Regions from separate parts of the Homo sapiens genome. Here region 1 is linked to region 2. Evidence: promoter capture Hi-C in 16 types of primary human blood cells and fetal thymus (Javierre and others, 2016). All regions are on one chromosome and are shown on one strand. The core of a region is centred on a gene start or on the middle of the fragment in contact, and the rest is flanking DNA. Distances in the headings are between cores, read along the strand shown. Region 1 overlaps CCT7 (chaperonin containing TCP1 subunit 7). Region 2 holds the start of RPS7 (ribosomal protein S7).

Region 1 (2,700 bases), core at 147-2,646, about 70 Mb after region 2:
CACTGCAACCTCTGCCTCCCAGGTTCAAGCAATTCTCCTGCCTCAGCCTCCTGAGTAGCTGGGATTACAGGCGCCCGCCATCACGCCCAGCTAATTTTTGTATTTTTAGTAGAGACAGGGTTTCACCGTGTTGTCCAGGCTGGTCTTGAACTCCTGACCTCAGGTGATCCACCTGCCTCAGCCTCCCAAAGTGCTGAGATTACAGGTGTGAGCCACCGTGCCCAGCCACCTTTTGCTTCTTAAACAATGTTTGTCTCTTGCTTCTTGGTACCATGATTATTTTAAGTATTGTATTACAATAAGCATGACAAGGACTGTTTTATTCATCACAATGCCTTGTACGTAACATAAGTTCTCAGTTCATGTGTGTAATTTTTTACCCTGAGGACATTTGATTGTCCACATCAGCCCTCTTTAGAGAATGGGGCTGTCTGGGGAATTAATTTGGTAGCCCAGGACTGTTTGACATGATGGATATGTAACTACCATTAGCTTCTTTCTACTTATTGCAAAAACCTGTGCTTCCAGAAAAAAGCTTGACATCCATTTAAATAATATTCAGTTTAAATGGGTAGCGTGCCTAAAAATGGAGTTTCAGGGCTTTATTCCCTGAACATCAGAAAACGTGTATTTCCTGTCATCATCTTCCAGGTGGGTGATGGCACCACCTCAGTGACCTTGCTGGCTGCAGAGTTTCTGAAGCAGGTGAAACCCTATGTGGAGGAAGGTTTACACCCCCAGATCATCATTCGAGCTTTCCGCACAGCCACCCAGCTGGTATGGCAGTACTGATTAACCTTCTCTTGGGCCTGGACACCTTCACATTTCTCTTAGGAAGGGGAATTTCTTTTCAGGAGTGTGGAGGGACTGGGGAACAGGGTACTTTGGGCATTTTCTGACATCTCCTTAGTAATCTCAGTTCTACTAATCTGTAGCCATTTGATGAGGTGTATTACTTAATCTCTTTAAGCCTCAGGTTAGAGTCAGCCTGGTAGACTATGATGTAGACATAGTCTTTTAGTAAGGACTAAGAGACTCATGGCATACTACTACTACATGCTATACTCAAGCACCTCATGGTGTATATTGAGACCTAGCTATTATTTGCCCTCTAACCTTCATTTGTGATCTGGGGCAAGTCATTTAATCTTTCTAGGCCTTACTTTCTTTGCTATCTCTAATTTGAGTGGTGACATTAAAATGAAATAATATATGAGGAGTACTTTGGAAAAAAATAAAAAGTTTATATATTTGTATGCATATTTTATATATAACTAATATATAAAGTGCTAGAAGTTGTCGTAGGTGTTTTTAGTAAACCAGGAGGTTTGGCTTAATCTCGTGTCACAGCTGTTTCCACTCATTCGTTGTAGCGTGTTACCTGCAGACCCAGAGCAAAATCTTGGAAGCACCCTGATTCTTCAGAACTGTATACCCACTCTGCATTTCTGACTTGGAATTTTCTGAACTATAGAGTTTTACATTTTTCTGAGCAGTTACAAGACCTAGAAGTGTTTTTTCAGCTGTAGAGTAGAAATGCTTAGGATTTGGGAGTGAACAGACTCAGGACTATTGAGAGATTGAGGTCCACTTCAGCAGTTTGTCTTTAGCATGAGAGACTCATTCAACTTCTGTTCTTGGCAGGCAGTTAACAAGATCAAAGAGATTGCTGTGACCGTGAAGAAGGCAGATAAAGTGTAAGTCTGTAGTGGGTTTTTTTTTTTTTTTTTAAAGAGACGGAGCCTTGCTGTATTGCCCAGGCTAGTCTTGAACTACTGGCTCAAGTGATCTCCCACCTGCGACTCCCAAAGTGCTGGGATTACAGGTGTGAGTCACCGTGTCAGGCCTTTGTCAGAACCTTGACTGACTTCCTGTGGCCAAATTGGATGCAGAAGCATGCTGCAATCCCTCTATGTGCCTGGGGCTGTTTGGCTCCTGCCAGACCCTTGGCTGTGTCCCAGCCCACAGAGCACAAAAGAAGCTGTCGACTGTAGTTTAAAAGCTGCCACATATGAGATCTTTGACTGCAGTCACCATCTGTCACTGATAATCTGCCCTAAAGATACAAAAGGTGAAGTTGGAGAGGGCTGAGTTTAGAGACTGGAAGGGAACTACCTCCACACTGTAGTAGAATCAGATAAGAGGGATTTGGTTTTCAAGACCTGATGCAGATTCTGCCCTTGTGTCCCAGGGAGCAGAGGAAGCTGCTGGAAAAGTGTGCCATGACCGCTCTGAGCTCCAAGCTGATCTCCCAGCAGAAAGCTTTCTTTGCTAAGATGGTGGTGGATGCAGTGATGATGCTCGATGATTTGCTGCAGCTTAAAATGATTGGAATCAAGAAGGTACAGGGTGGAGCCCTCGAGGTAAGCCTGCTGTGGCCTTCCTAGACAGCTCTTGCTTTCATATTGACCCTTCAGACAGCTTCATATGGCAGAGGGGTACTCATTACAGGAATAAAGAGAATGCATGTTAGGCAGGAAGTCAGACTTACATTGTACTTTCCATACTGCCATTAGAGGCTGTTACTAGATGAACTTGGTAACCTCTGTGGATATTATTTGTCAGCAGAGTAGAAAATTGGACTGTATGATTTTCAGAATCTCAGGTTCTCTGTGTCAGTGGGTGGTGGAGGGGTAGTAGGACTAGCTCAAATCATCAATGACCTCCCAATTAATACATCTGAGAGGGATTTTTCAGTTC
Region 2 (2,700 bases), core at 131-2,630:
TAATTTTTTTTGTTCTCAAGTGATAGGTTCACAGAGAAAAAGCTTTACTGGATGAACTTTTAGATTACTACTTTTATAGAGCAGCAGAGATAAAAGCCAGGTCGAAAAGTGCATGTGGAGTAAGGAAATGGACCTAGTTCGACAAAAGGGCTCAGAACGACTGCCCAGATGAGATTGTAGACGCAGCTGTAGTTTACTTTCTATCTGGAAGAAACTTCAAGTTATCCTTAATTTTCCAAGGAGACAGTCACTTACCTTTTAAAAAACATTATTAGAGAAGCACCGGGCGGGAGCATATCTAGCATTAAAAATGTGGGATGAATACCATCTCTGCTTGGTAAAGGTGGTTGGGAATCCTGAGAGAGGGCACCTAGTGTGGCTTCTGCATTTTTCACAGTGCCTGGACCACGGCTGAAAGTAACTCTTGCATGACATTTGACAGAAGAGGAAACCGAAGCTCAGATTAAATTCCCTGTCCACAGCGGGATCATTCGGCACGAGTTCCTCCCTGTCTGGAATGCTCTTCCCCAGCAATAGATCCTGCGGCTCTTCCGTGTCTCAGTCTAATGTCATTCCGTTCCAGGATTCCCGACTTCTTAAAGCATAAATAATCCCTCCCCACCCTCTCATTGTACTGTTATGTAAGTTATTACAATATGTCATTATATATTTAGTCATACTGCTTTAGGTAATGTCTTCTCCACTGAACTGTAAGCTCCATGAGGGCAAGAGTTCAGTCGGTTTTACTTAATAATTAGCACCTAGTACAGTACTAGCATAGAATGAAGGCCTCGCAATTTTTTTTAAATTTATTTTTAGACAGGGTCTTGCGCTGTCGCCCAGGCTGGAGTGCAGTGGTGCAACCTCGGCTCACGGCAGCCTCGACCTTTCGGCTCCAGCGATCCTCCCGCGTCGGCCTCCGGGGTAGCTGGGACTGCAGGCGCGCACCACCATGACTGGCTAATTTTTTTTTTTTTTTTTTTGTAGACATGGGGTCTCGCCATGTTGCCCAGGCTGGTTCCTGAGCTCAAGTGATCCTCCTGCCTCGGCCTCCCAAAGTGCTGGGATTACAGGCGTGAGCCTCAGCGCCCAGCCAAGTTAGCCTTTTTTAAACGTCCTGTCTCCGGAGGTTGCCGAAGTTGGTTTTCTTCGGCCTCCTTCTCTCTCCCAGGCCCAGGGCTGGGACGAGGCCGGTTCCCGCCTGCAACCTGCACTGAAGACGGGAACCTTGGGAGCCGGTACCGGAACGCTCGGAAACGGCACCAAAGTACGAATCCTAGGGCGGAAAAGCGTTACCAAGACACTCGTCCCCAGAGCCGCTTCCTGGGACTCTCTAGCCTCCTACCGCTTCTCAGTGATGTTCCGGTTTCCGCCCTCCTCCTCGCGCTGTTTCCGCCTCTTGCCTTCGGACGCCGGATTTTGACGTGCTCTCGCGAGATTTGGGTCTCTTCCTAAGCCGGCGCTCGGCAAGGTAGGTTGGCGGCCTGCTCTCCGACAGAACTTTTCTTCTTGGGTTGAGGAAAACGCCTTTTGGAGTCAGGCCCTGGAGGGGCGAGCCTTGCTCACAGGGTGGGGATACAGCCGATTACCCGCCCTGTGCTTTCCGATGGCTTCTGCGGGGCGAGCGGGGCCTGGCCGGGGGGTGCGGGCGGGAGGGCGAGCCAGCGGCGCCTGCAGCCCGGGCCGCGTAACGCTGACCGCTGTGCCTTCAGTTCTCCCAGGAGAAAGCCATGTTCAGTTCGAGCGCCAAGATCGTGAAGCCCAATGGCGAGAAGCCGGACGAGTTCGAGTCCGGCATCTCCCAGGTGAGAGGGTTTCCCTGGGGTCTGGGGTGGGGGGAGGCGCCCCGCCCGGGAGGGGAGGCGGCCGCGCGTGTGTTGGGCCCGGGGTGCTCGGACGCGCGCTCAGGGTCGGTCCTGCTGTTCGTTGCTTCTTAGGCTCTTCTGGAGCTGGAGATGAACTCGGACCTCAAGGCTCAGCTCAGGGAGCTGAATATTACGGCAGCTAAGGTAAGCTGGCGCTCCCTCGGCTGGGAGGGAGGTTGCGGCGCGTCTCCCCGCGCAGTGCCTGAGAGGGTTGGACCTGGGTTACGGTTGATGATGACTTGCCGCCTGGCCGCCTAACCTGAACTCAGGTTCGGCCGTGTTGTTTGGGAGTGATACCGCCCAGGTGCGGGGAGTGGGGTTGCAGGTACCCTGCGGCTTAAGCTGTCCACATGCGGGCGGTGGAGAAACGTGGAGTAGGGAGGGCCTGGGCCCATTTCGGACCTTATTTGCCCTTACTTAGTTATAGATACGGCAAAGAGCTGTGGGGAGCTCAGGATGAGATTCTCTCTACCCTTAGCCCGGAGTTGCCGCAAGTGGGGGTGCAGAAGTGGTAGTGATTGGCCTCCTGGCCTGAACAGTCTCCCTTCCTGGAATAAGGAAATGTGAAGGTTGGAGAGAGATGAGAACATTTCCGAAGGATGCATTTATGATTAACTCAAAACTAGTATTAGTTTGTAGTGCAGCTACGGTGTTAGTGATAAGGTCTTCTTATCCTCTAATTTGACCACAACGTTTACTTTCTGAAGCAGTTAACACAGTGGATTTTTGTTTTTTTCTTTAGGAAATTGAAGTTGGTGGTGGTCGGAAAGCTATCATAATCTTTGTTCCCGTTCCTCAACTGAAATCTTTCCAGAAAATCCAAGTCCGGCTAGTA

Evidence for each region. The method cuts DNA at HindIII sites, captures the fragments that hold promoters and counts their contacts. A CHiCAGO score of 5 or more calls a contact.
Region 1: a fragment that was not itself captured here is called in contact with the fragment with the promoter of RPS7 in region 2 in 1 of 17 cell types (total B cells); the score reaches 6.7 in total B cells.

Annotation. Positions count from the first base shown.
Region 1 is chr2:73,242,353-73,245,052 of GRCh38, forward strand. It overlaps CCT7 (chaperonin containing TCP1 subunit 7), which reads left to right. Exons shown (of 12, transcript NM_006429.4): 4 at 652-777; 5 at 1,645-1,697; 6 at 2,192-2,363. Among named protein-coding and RNA genes, the nearest start is that of CCT7, 9.4 kb to the left of the region's middle. The HindIII fragment of the contact is 1,727 bases long and covers 534-2,260 here.
Region 2 is chr2:3,573,880-3,576,579 of GRCh38, forward strand. RPS7 (ribosomal protein S7) reads left to right here and starts at 1,381. Exons shown (of 7, transcript NM_001011.4): 1 at 1,381-1,471; 2 at 1,713-1,805; 3 at 1,938-2,009; 4 at 2,608-2,700. The coding sequence starts at 1,731. It overlaps LOC124907726 (a long non-coding RNA gene), which reads right to left and starts at 1,230. Exons shown (of 2, transcript XR_007086196.1): 1 at 256-1,230. RefSeq lists enhancers at 934-1,509, 1,510-2,086 and a silencer at 1,638-1,927. The HindIII fragment of the contact is 5,628 bases long and covers 41-2,700 here.